3 separate regions of the Homo sapiens genome follow, and all the other regions are linked to region 3. Evidence: promoter capture Hi-C in 16 types of primary human blood cells and fetal thymus (Javierre and others, 2016). All regions are on one chromosome and are shown on one strand. The core of a region is centred on a gene start or on the middle of the fragment in contact, and the rest is flanking DNA. Distances in the headings are between cores, read along the strand shown. Region 1 overlaps LINC01147 (long intergenic non-protein coding RNA 1147). Region 2 overlaps GALC (galactosylceramidase). Region 3 holds the start of KCNK10 (potassium two pore domain channel subfamily K member 10).

Region 1 (4,039 bases), core at 933-3,432, 300 kb after region 3:
TTAGATGTGGGAAAGAAACTATCATCATTGCGCCCTGAAAACCTCATTCCCACCATTGGTGGGGAAATAAAAACCCTAAATTTGTGCATAGAAGATATTTCCATGTCTGCTGGCTTAAATAGTCTTTTAAAGACTTGTTTATGTCTTCTGGATAAAGACTCAATCAAGTTTAAGTTCCATGCCCCTCTTAGTACTGTTTCTCGTCTTGGAGAGCCACTCACTAGAAGGCACTTTCCACAAGAGGTGCCTCTCACAAGATGTAGTCTTCCATAAGATGGCAACTGGATGGAGAGGAAAGCTTACCTGTCCTCTTTGCTGTGAGGATGTCAACCTGCTGCTCCTCATACTGTCTTCTGGTCCCCTCTGGCCTTTGAGATGATGTCCTGTCTGTCCATTAGGCATCCCCCTGGCAGAAGCTTCTGAGACCACAGTCAGTATAATTGGTGATCTGGTGGTCTGCTGGGGGTCTACTGTGTCCCCTCCAGTTATACTCCCTTGTCTTGGTTCTTGCTAGAGCAGCAGCTCCCCATGGTCTCAGCTGCCTCCTCCATCCACCCTGGGCCTTGGTTCTCCACCCAGCAGCCTCTGCCATGGGGTCAAGTTTCCCTCCCACTGGGATCCATGGGAGGCCCACTGGCCCTCATCTCTCTTCCATACTCTTCTTCCTCTGGGAGCAAGTGACAATGTTTGGATTCCTTCCCTATCCCACAGCAGAGGACCTATTCCCAGTTATCTTTTCTTCTTAAGTATCACCACCATGGTATACCACCATGTCGATTTTTCTGTTCTGTTGCAATTTTACTAATGCAGGGGTGCCCTAAAAGGTGATCTCCTCCCTGAACCCCAAACAAGGCATGAGTCCCCTCTGCCGCTCTGCTTCTGGGTTTCCTTGCTGATCTCTCTTAATATGAATCCGGAAATATGTCCTATCTCTTGCTCTCGCTTTCTGTACCTCATGGATTCTTCGTAGAATCAGAAGGTATATCTACTTCATCTTTTTGTTGTTAAAAGAAAAACTTTAGCCAAATTAAATTTAACAGAGTTTAATTGAGCAAAGAACAATTTGCAAATTGAGCAGCCTCCTGAGCCACAGTAGGCTCAGGGACTCCAGTGCAGACACATGGTGGAAGATTTATAGATAGAAGAAAGAAAGTGACATACAGAAACTAGTGTGAGGTACAGAAACAACCAGATGGGTTGCTACTTGATGTTTGCATCATTTGAACACAGTTTGAACAGTTGGTCACCTTTGATTGTCCAAGACTCAGTGATGACACAAGAGTAGACTACAGTCTGAGTGCAACTCCATTTAGGTTATAGTTCATGATGTACACAGAAACCTTTAGGCTGAACTTAAAATACACAAGGAGGCAGCTTTAAGCTAAACTTGATTTAACACTGTCCAGTAGGGCATCACCAAGTAATATCTTCCTTCATGCATTGTGGCATTTTGATACTTTCCTCCTTTTTCCTGGGCAATAAACTGGGCTTTAATGATGGAAAGCCTTTGGGAGAACAATCACTTATATGGGAATGGAAAATGTAACAATTTAATGTCTTCTAAATAGGATTCCTGTTACATCTAGAATATGTAAAACTCTGCTAGTTTCTAGGAAGGGAGCTGAGGATAGGCTCAGAGGGAATTAAGACGTGAATTAAACATGATTTCTGTTCTTAAATAGCTTTCAACTTGGAGGAAGAGATGGATATGAACACCATTGGCCAAGGCATGGCATAAGAACCAAATGTGGCCTGCACCACTGGGTGATGAGATCAGACAGGGGTGAAAGATCACATAGATCCCTTAAAAAGCTGGCTGCTTTCAGTTTGCTTCTTCTCAATTCTGCAGGTTAGAGACCACAGCCAGAAACCTGATTAGCTGCAGTCTTTGAGCCTAGACCTTAGCTTGAGAATTTCTGTCTCAGCAAACATCAGGTTGGGCCTGAACTTGGGGGTGGGAGGGATCCATCTCTTCACTGGGTGGGACTGTACCTTTTTTTCTGGTAGATGGCAATTAATAGGAGGTACTTAGGAAAGGGCTGCACTCTATTTGAGAGCAGTAGTTCTCAAAGTGTGTCCCACTCACATCAGTGTTATCAGGGAACTTGTCAAAAACACAAATTCTCAGGCCCCACCCTAGGCCTGCTGAATCAGAATCTCTGGGGATGAGGGATTGAGCAAAGAACAATTTGCAAATTGAGCAGACTCCTGAGCCAGAGTAGGCTCAGGGACTCCAGCACAGCCAAATGGTGGAAGATTTATAGATAGAAGAAAGAAAGTGACATACAGAAAATGGTGTGAGGTACAGAAACAACCAGATGGGTTGCTACTTGATGTTTGCATCATTTGAACACAGTTTGAAGAGTTGGTCACCTTTGATTGGCCAAGACTCAGTGATGACACAAGAGTAGACTACAGTCTGAGCGCTCTGTCTTAACAAGCTCTCCAGGTGATTCTCATCCATACTAAAGTTTGAGAACCTCTTCTCTAGACTCTAAAATTATGTAACTCCACACCCACACCCAGGGCCCAGCAGCACTGGCATTACCTGAGAATTTCTTAGAAATGTAGAATCTCAGGCCCCACTTCAGATGTATTGAATAAGAATCTTTTAAACTAAGATTCCTAGTTAATTCTTATAAACATTAAAGTTTGAGAACCATTGCACTAGGTGATTGGACCTATATTCAACCTGGATTCTAGATCATAGGTGGATAGTATCATTTTTTAAATTATTATTATATTTTAAGTTCTGGGGTACATGTGCAGAACGTGCAGGTTTGTTACAGAGGTATACATGTGCCATGGTGGTTTGCTGCACCATCAAACCGTCATCTACATTAGGTATTTCTCCTAATGCTATCCCTCCACTAGCCCTCCAACCCCCGACAGGCCCCGGTATGTAATGTTCCCCTCCCTGTGTCCATGTGTTCTCATTGTTCAACTCCCACTTATGGGTGAGAACATGTGGTGTTTGGTTTTCTGTTCTTGTGTTAGTTTGCTGAGAATGATGGTTTCCAGCTTCATCTATGTCCCTGCAAAGGACATGAACTCATCCTTTCTTAAAAGTTATGTTTTCTTCTCTTTTCCAGGGAGGCCACCTCCTGTCAAAGCTGGGACATCTGAGAGACAGTGGTCACACAACAACTCAACTGCATGTGCACCTAAAACAGTAGCTTATTTTCTCTGACTGTTTCTTCTTCTTCTTCTTCTACTCCTTATTCTTATTCTTCTTTCTGATTTACCAACCTACTGGGTATCAGTGCAAAAAATTATTTTACTTGCGAATTAATGATATCACCACGTTTTCTTGCTTAAACTGTCTTTTTAGGTTAGCTCAGCTACTCTGGGCTAAACATTCAGTCTTTCAGATATACTCCACTTACCTTAGCTCCTCCCATGGTGGTTCCGGGGTTGGAGAGGCTTACGTGACCTTATGGTAGCAGGGCAGAGGCAGGGCTATGCTGCTCATGGGGCATTCTGTAAAAGTAAGATGTGTCTTCCTTATGATACCTTCCTTCCAGTTGTTGGAAAGTTGTCGTGCTGCTTTTATTAGAGCAAGCATCTTGTTGCCATATGCTTTAAAATGGACATAATAAATGTGCAAATCTTCAATGTCTGTTAAATGAATGGTGCCCTCTTAGACATGGATTTCTTGTGCAACACTCAACCTGCACAACTGTATGCCAGTCTCTATTTTTGTACCACAGTAAAGTGCATGCATAAGGCTGAATATGGGGTTTTCCCCAGAGGCTTGCAGCTATCTTCAGGAAAAGCAGACTATTGGCATTGACCATCCTGGCAACTCTGGAAATTCTATTGATCTCAGGCCATGAGGATCAACATTTGTCTCCGACATCCTCATTTTAACTCTTCTTTGCCTCCTCCCCTTAGACCACTGCGGTCAGGAGCCCAGGCTTTTTCATTTCCCTGAATAATAGAAGCTTCGTTTACATCATGATTGGTTCTCACTACCCCCTGGCATAGAGAAAACTCCAATTTTAAGTCAGCCAGGCCTACTTCTTGATATGAGATGGGA
Region 2 (4,093 bases), core at 1,594-4,093, 390 kb after region 3:
TAGGAACATTTTTCCCCCAAGCTAAACAAAGTTTAGGATTTATTTTTATGTGTAAGTCTTTAATACGTCAGAAATTTACTTGTGAATTGTAAGGGGAAGTACTGAATATAATTTTTTAAAAAATGGATAGCCATCATTTATTACAATGGACTATCCTTTTGCCCATAATTTAAAGGCTACCTTTTTGATGTAACAAATCAGCACATGTGCACATGCTTGTTTCTGAACTTTTTTCTGTTCTCCATATTGATGTTTGTCTATTATTATCCAAAATCACGCTTTTAATTGGTGTTCACATTCTAAAAGCTTTGATGATACAGCTACTCCCTTGCTTCCTTCAGAGTTTTCTTACCTGACCACCTGATAGAAAACAGCGCCCCATCTCACTCTCTAACTCCTTTCTGTTGCTTTATTTTTCTCCAAAAGTTTTATCCCAAGCTGACATCACACATATTCTGTTAATTGTTCATGTGTTTTCCTACTCCCTTCACTAGCACATAGCTCCTTTAGTGACAGGCTTTTCTCCATATTCCTCACTGCTGGCTCTGTAGCACCTAGAAAAGTGCCTGACAGCCAGGCAGAGCAAGAGTCCGAATAATACTTGGTAAATGAATGAATGGATATCTGGTGGGGCAACTTCCTCATTGTTTCTTTTTCAAAATTATCTTTGCTATTCCACTATATATATTATTCGATTTGACTTTTAAAAAACAAACTTTCAGTTACTTGAAAAATGGTGCTGGTATTACATTAAATTTACACATCAATTTAGGAAAAAATGACTTTTTTTTTTTTAACAATAATGTGTTTCCCCATGAGAGAACACAGGAACAAAAGCATGCTATATTTCACCATTTATTAAGATTTGCCACTATGTCCTTCAGTTTTATTTTTGCAAACTTTTGATTAGGTTTGTTTTAGTAATTTTATGAGTTTTTTTGAAATCATGAATGAGATTTTAAAAATTTTCTTAATTTTTTTCAGGTACTTTGCATACCTGGTTAAAATATCAATAGGATGTGAGGCATCTTGCCTCACATCCTGTTCCTTCTTCTTGACCCCATTCTGTGTCTTGTACTTCTGATACAGCCACTCTTCACTATTTTAGCTGTTTCTTCTGGTGTGTCTTTAATACAATGTGATTCATTACTTTTAAAAATTGGCTCTTGTCTTGCTACTAGGATGGATAGGACTTTGCTGGCTTGCACCCACCTCACTCCCCTACTCCTGTTATTTTGTGTTTCATCAACTATGGGCATTCTGTTTCCTCTTGAATCTCAGCTTTTGCCACATACTCTGAGGGTCTTCTGTAACTATCTGCACTAAAGTAGTCTGTCAGGCACCCATTGTCACCTTGACCTGGCTTAATTTTTACATGCTACTTATCTTTTAGCTCTCATTTTGTGTGTGTGTGCATATCTGTCCATCTCCTACTAGAATATAAGCTCCATAAGAGCAGGGACCTTGTCTTTCTTGTTCATCTTAAATTCCCAGTGCATTAAACAGTATTTGACATATAAATCTTCTTTGCGTAAATAAAAAAAACAAAACATCATCTTCTATGTTGCCCATATTCCAAATTACAGCTAATGTGAGGATTTTGTCACTGACTATCAGCCACCTGTTGAATTCTTCTCAGCACTTGTCAGGTGACTTGTCCCAGTTCTGTTGCATGGTGGGTAGCACAATGGACTTTGAAGTCTACTATATTCTACTTGCAAGTATTTTATATTGCACAGCTTCAATTTTCCCATCCATGATATCATGAAGAACACTTTTCTTATGAAGATTCAATGAGAAAATAAATAAATATATATATATATATAGTACCTGATATGTGGTAAGCACTTAATGAGTCAAGTTAATATTTTTAGGAGTAGGAGTGTTTGGAACCAGACAGACCAGCATTCGTATTTCCTCACTAACACATGCTGAGACTTCTAGCAAGTTATTCCACCTCTTTGAGTATCCATTTCCTTATCTGCAAAATGGAGATAACTTCTGTGAGGTTGTTTTGAGGGTTAAATGTGTTTCATTCTTATATTCAACACATTTTTATTAAGCCCCTACTGTATGCACTTTACTAAGTCCTAGGGATACAGCAGCGAACGAAACAGACAAGATTCCTGCTCTCTTAGAGCATATATTCTTCTAGGACAGGGGTTGGCAACTTTTTCTGTAAAGGGCCAGATAGTAAATATTTTAGACTTCGTGGGCCATGTGGTCTCTGCTGTGGCTACCCAGTTCGGCTATTGTAATGAGTAAAAAAGCCATAGACAATAGACAATAATGAGAAAAAAAGCCATAGACAATGGATGTGGCTGTGTTTCAGTAAGATTTTATTTATTAAAAAAAGGGCGGTTGGCATGTAGGTCATAGTTTGCTGAGCCCTATCCTGAGATAATAAACTTGTAAATAAGTTTATAAATGATTATGAAGAAAAAATAGAGTCATGAGATAAAGTAGCTCTGTTACCCTGATTCTCTAACCAGGGAGGTGAGGAAAGACCTCACTGAGTGGGTAGTACTTGAGTGCAGACCTGAATGCTGGGAAGAACAATTTGAGCAGACCAAGTGGCAGGTGCAAAAGGCAGGTGTAGCTGACATTGTGTGAAGAGCAGCCTGGAGGCTGGGGTGGCTGAAGTCTGGGGAGTCAGGAGAGATAAGGTCCTGTTAGACAGGTTTTGTGCTTAATGTGATCTGTGATTTGAGTCCCTTGGCTCGGTGTTAATATTGAGTGTTTGATGGCAGCAGAAGATGTTCAGTAAGCACTTCTAGAGCTGAAGATAGCTGTGCAAGTCTGTAGTAATAGGAATGTGGCTCTGAATTTGGAGCTAGGTAACTTGGAGTGAAAACCTGTGACTTTGAGCTTTAATCTATTAAGCCTCAGTGTTTCCACGCATAAAATAAAAGAACTAAATTAAGGCCCATTACGTTATACTTCCAAGACTTAAAAGCAGATTTATTCTGGTTCTTGGCCCAGTGCTTTGAGTTTTGAGCTCTTCACCTTCTGAGAGTAGCTAGTTTTATATGATTGACTGTAGTTAGTATGCTGTGAATATGTGCTCATAAATGTACTATCATAAAGATAATAAGAGCTGAGATTTATTGTTTACCATGTGCCAGGCACTGAGCTAAGTAGAATGGCAACATTCGGAGGAAGGTGTAATTTTTTCTTTCACTGTCAGTGACCAGTAAGTCACACCTTATAGATGCCTCCCTTCTTCCACCCGCTGCACCCTACTCCAGCATCACTTTAACTGATGGTTACTGTTTTTCCAACTTAAGGGTAGGAGCTTCATATGGCTTTGAAGTGATATTCTATTCATGGCAACAAAACACAAAAACTAAGGTTAATTATTTTTCTTCTGGCTGGGCAGAGGCTCCTTAATGAAAACCTTAAGGAAGCAATGAGGTAGAAGCAGATGTTTTGACTCCAGCAGTCATGTCTGAAGAGCTGGTGGCTGTTAGCCACACCACTTGTACATGTGACTACTTATAAATAACTTTTGTTAAATTTTAATGAGCTTTTTTCTAAAACTTTATAATAATGCCTGAAAAGTTTTGCATTTTGTTGGTTTTAAATTTTGGTGGAGCACAGGAAATATTGAGGTATTCCTTGTACTTTGGGAACGATTTAAGTAGGTAGATAAGAATTTCTTCCTAGAGTTTTTTCCTGTATTTTAAACTTTTGCTCAAACTTGTGGAATTGTGTTTTGCTGTGGTTAAGTCTTGAGTGAGTAGTACATTTGCTCCACTAAGTAGTGGGCCATACATGATCAAGAAACAGACTTCAGAGGACCATTTTCATATGGTTTCAAGGAATGTGTTTCTTTCTACTCTAGGGTCATTTCACCTCTGGCATGCTGAATGACAAGTCTCTGTGGACAGACATCCCTGTGAATTTTCCAAAGAATGGCTGGGCTGCAATTGGAACTCACTCCTTTGAATTTGCACAGTTTGACAACTTTCTTGTGGAAGCCACACGCTAATACTTAACAGGGCATCATAGAATACTCTGGATTTTCTTCCCTTCTTTTTGGTTTTGGTTCAGAGCCAATTCTTGTTTCATTGGAACAGTATATGAGGCTTTT
Region 3 (4,421 bases), core at 39-2,538:
GTGATGGCACTTGGAAGGGGTTCAATATATATGTTGAATGAACAACAAATTTTAGTAACCTTATCTGGAAGCCAGAGTAGGGGTTTAAACTACTTCCTATCCAACACTGCAGCATGCAATTCATGTCTTCATTTAGCAAGTATTTCTTGAGCACCTACTACGTGTAAGGCTCCGTTGCGAGGCATCCGAAGCAATTTGTCAGCATCATTCATGTTGATACTCGGAGTGACCCGTTCAAGAGCACCTCAGCACCACCTGGCTTTTCTGAAGACTGAGGCCCCACCACAAACCCCTGTGGGGCTTCAAGCAGGGGCAGTGAGAGGGCGTTAGACGAATGCTCCAGGTTTAGCCCCTTTCCGGGAACAGGTCTGGGTCCCTTCGCATCTGCCCTGCTGGTCCCAGGATCCCGGGGCCGCCGCTTCCGGGAGCTGCCGGGTCTTGGCAACTCCGCTTTCCTCCGGGGGCCCCCGTGCCTCTCTCAAGCCTCCTTTCCAGCCAACGACCAGCGGCCCCAGTCCGGCTGCAGGTAGCTGGGGAAGGGACCAAGCTGTGCCTTGGGAGCGAGCTTCCCCGGGCGGGGAGAGCGCAGCAGATGCGGAGCGGTCCCAGAACAAAAGGCTCATGGCTGGCACGGGCCTCCTTGGAGTGCGGCGGGGACGTGGGTTCGGGACTCAGGCGAGAGAGCCAGACGCGGGAGGAAAAAAAATGAAGTGAGAAAAGAGAAGGAGGGAGAGCTCAGGGTGAGAGCGGTGAGAAGAGGTGACCCGGAGGCCGAGGTCTGCGGCGGAGCCGCAGCGGCCCTTCCTCCGCCTCCTGCAGCGCCTTCCAGGCAACCAAGCGTGTCTCCGGCTGCAACTCCAGCAAGCGCGCCGCTGCCGCCTCCACGCCCGCCCGCCGGCCGGCCGAGCCAGTAAGTAGCGGCGCGCCCACCGCTCGTTCCCCGCCCCTCCGCGGCTTCCCCGCCACCGCCCACCGCCTCCCGCCGCCCCGCGGGCAAGTCCGCGACCGCCTCCCGCTGCCCCGAGCCGGGTGCCGGGGGCTCAGCGCGCCTTCCCAGCTGGGAGCCTCGGTCCGCTGCTCGCCCTGCTCCCTCTTGCCGGGGCGCGGCGTCTGGGGCGCGCCGCGGGGAGGGTCGCCCTCGCCGCGCGCTGCCCGGGCGCCGCGCCACCCCTACATCCAATGGCTTTCGGGGAGCGGGAAGTGGGGGGCGTCGCCGGGGGCGAGGAGCCGCGGCCGGGGTGGGGCGTGTGCGCTCAGCGCGGCCGAGCGAGGCTGACGTGCCCGCCCAAGCGCGCGCCCGGGAGTGTGTGTGCGGGTGTGTGTGTGCGGGAGTGTGTGCGCACACGCCTTCGGGGGCTGGAGTGACACTGCAGTGGGCTTCTCCGTAGCCCCAGCCTTCAGGCTGCGCAGCCCCTAACCTGCCGGCACCGCTTTTGGGAAGCAGCTTGGCTCTTCCATCTCCCCAAGCCTTCCTCTCCATCCTTTCATCCACCCCTCGCCGATCTTACTTTTTCTTTTACCCACGGGGCCGCGGCCGGCCACCCCCTGGCCGGTGCAAACACCCAAGCCCTCTCCAGTTCTCCCCCAAGCTAATATTTTCCCACCTGTCTTTTTCTGGGGTTCCTCCACGAGCCAGTCCAAGGCTCCCCCATCCTCGGAAATTGTTTTGTTGGACTGCTAAACCGAGGCGTGTAAAGCTTGAGGACTTTATTATTATTTGGGTTCTTTTCATTTCTTCCCCTTCTGGGCAACGAAGCAATGAAATTTCCAATCGAGACGCCAAGAAAACAGGTGAACTGGGATCCTAAAGGTGGGTGTTTCCTACTTTTGGCTGCCCTCGCCCTGCCTCTGTCTCCGGCGTGTGCGCGCTTCCTTGAGTGGAAGCACTCTTGCTTCTGGCAGCGTGTGTCCTGAGGCTGGGAAATGCGCCTGGGAACTGCAGCGCGGGTGGGAGGAGGGCGGAGGCAGCGTGGGTTCCGAACCCAGATAGTGCCTGTCATTACCACATAATCATTGTCCCTCCTAGATTGTCTCCAGATCTATTTAGATAGACCAAGCCGACTGTTTGGTTTGAAATTGCAAGTGTCGGTATTTGCTTTTGACTTTGAGTGTGCGAGTGTGTGTGTGTGTGTGTGTGTGTGTGTGTGTCCTTTGTTTCTGGTGATCTTTGTCTCTCTGGCAGATGGGTGGGGTGCTTCCCCCTGGACCTGGAGCTGCGCCGCATGCCCGGGTGTCCTCAGTGGGAAAGGTTTCCTGGCAGCAAGTGGGGCTCGAGTTGCAGCAGCCGTCCCTAGGGGTGGGCCGTTCTCGCAGGGCATGCAGAATAATGGAGCCCACAGGGCCTCCTGAGTCTTCGTTCAATCTTATTACCAAACCTAGCAGCTAGTTAGGCTCAGGTCAGAGTAGAAGCAGGAGGAGGGGTGGTTTGTGAGAAGGGTGGGGCTGGCAAGGCATAGGGGAGGGGCACGAAGTGTGCCCGCCCAAGCAATGGTGTGGTTTGCATGCTTTTACGAATGTTGGACCAGGTTTCATCCACGCAAAAGGGAGGGATTAAGACGGATTTGTGTGTGCCTAGCGTCGGCCACCGTGTCTGTAATTAGCATACAGATGTTAAGGCTCCAAGGGAGTGATCAGTATGAGAGCAGAACAAGTTGGAACCGCGTGTCCAGTTGTGACAAGAATGCTCTTTAGCATTTCTTGTAGCTCATCTGACGACTGTGTCAGGCTAGGCAACGCCTCTGTGTGTATTGGAATTGAAATTTGTTTATTTGGGGTGCGTGTGTGTTTAATGTTCTTTATGAGCGCATTTCTTCTTTTTCTCCAGACTGGAAAGAAGAAACCATCTTATTTGTTGAGTAAATGTCTTAGGAATTGACTGGCTATTGAAGAGTGAGTGAAGAGATACTGCCTTTTTAAAACACTGAGGCTGTTACATCTTAAATACAGCCCAAACCTTCTATTTTGTCTCTACTTGAAATCTCTGGAAATATGGAGGTGTGCCTTTGCTTTTTTGGGGGGAGAATCCCTGAAAAGCATATTTGTTAAATACCTATTACATGCTAAACACTGTCCTAAGCTCTGGAGATACAGTCAGAACAGGAAAGATAAAAGCTCTGACTTGGAGTTTACAGTGAGGGAGACAGACCTAAATCAATTCCATGGAGGAATGCATAATTCAAAGTTTATGTATGCTCCAGGGAGAGCATCAGAGGTTTAAGAAAGTGTCTGATAGAAGAGATTGACAAGGACCAGAGAAGGCTTCCCTGAGGACATGACACTTGGACTTAGGCCTGGAGGATGTATAGGAGTTAATTGTCTAAGGAGGAGGGGAATTGTTGCAGAAGAGGGAACAGCAAGTGCAAAGGGCCTGAGGCAGAAGAGGTATGTGTATATGATGAACTGAAAGGAGGTTCCCATGGCTATGGCAGAGTGAGTGAAGAGGTATTGCCTTTTTTAAACACCCAGGCTGTTATACTGTAAATACAGCACAAACCTTTCATTTTGTCTCTATTTGAAACCTCTGGAAATACGGAAGTATGCCTTGGCTTTCTTTTGGGAAATCCCTGAAAAATGTATTTATCCCTAGCAGAGAGCAAGAGGGCTTGTGTTTTGAGATATGACTGGGGGATCCACAGGCGAGACGCCCCCCTCCAAGCCCTGTGTTGTTGGAGGTGGGGTAGCATTGTGGGGTTGGAAGAGTATAGTATTTATCTAAAGCCAATGAAGAGTTTCAAGACGAGGAGTGACATGATTTGAGCTAAGTTTCAAAACAAGTGCTGTGTGGCTCTTGTGGATGTAGGGGACCAGATACAATGGTAGCATGGGCCAGGGTGGTTGCTGTGGGCATGGAGAAGCGGACGGAGTAGAGAGCTGTAGAGGACGTGAAATCAACAGGCTTTGCATGAATAATGTGTGGAAGTGAAGTGAAGGAATTGGAATGACTGAGATGGCAGCCAGGGCAGGACCAGTCTTGAAGGAAAGCTCATGAGTTCAATCTAGGACTTGTTGAGTAGGACATGTCCCCAAGCCATCCAAGGGGTGTGTTAGGTGGGCAGCTGTCTAAGTGCTGGGGTCAGGATCTTCAAGGAACAGAGGGAGTACCGTGAGACTGATTTTGTGAAGCTGGCTTTGTGTTTTAAGGTACATTTCTGTGTGATCATCATTCTATATATTCATGTTACAGTGATGAACACAGACAAATTTTACACATTTTACAGCCTGACACAGTGAAGAAAAGCATACAAATAGCACCTTCAGTTACAACCAGTGGTGCTAAAAATGAAAAAAACCTCAATAAAAATAACAACATTTAATGAGCAACCATTGCATGCCAGGTGCTTTATGTACATTGTTTCATACAATTATTTTCACAATACTTATCTGATGGTATAAGTGTTATAGTTCCATTTGGCACTTGATTG

Evidence for each region. Contacts are between HindIII fragments. The CHiCAGO score rates a contact against its expected background, and 5 or more counts as called.
Region 1: a fragment that was not itself captured here is called in contact with the fragment with the promoter of KCNK10 in region 3 in 1 of 17 cell types (monocytes); the score reaches 5.4 in monocytes.
Region 2: a fragment that was not itself captured here is called in contact with the fragment with the promoter of KCNK10 in region 3 in 1 of 17 cell types (neutrophils); the score reaches 5.9 in neutrophils.

Annotation. Positions count from the first base shown.
Region 1 is chr14:88,017,757-88,021,795 of GRCh38, reverse strand. It overlaps LINC01147 (long intergenic non-protein coding RNA 1147), which reads left to right. Exons shown (of 3, transcript NR_110121.1): 3 at 3,093-3,191. Among named protein-coding and RNA genes, the nearest start is that of HISLA, 4.8 kb to the left of the region's middle. The HindIII fragment of the contact is 3,528 bases long and covers 419-3,946 here.
Region 2 is chr14:87,934,630-87,938,722 of GRCh38, reverse strand. GALC (galactosylceramidase) reads left to right here. Exons shown (of 17, transcript NM_000153.4): 17 at 3,845-4,093. The coding sequence ends at 3,991. Among named protein-coding and RNA genes, the nearest start is that of GALC, 57 kb to the left of the region's middle. The HindIII fragment of the contact is 5,069 bases long and covers 309-4,093 here.
Region 3 is chr14:88,320,136-88,324,556 of GRCh38, reverse strand. KCNK10 (potassium two pore domain channel subfamily K member 10) reads left to right here and starts at 1,288. Exons shown (of 7, transcript NM_138317.3): 1 at 1,288-1,810. The coding sequence starts at 1,759. RefSeq lists enhancers at 651-710, 1,283-1,942 and a silencer at 761-1,000. The HindIII fragment of the contact is 7,039 bases long and covers 1-1,699 here.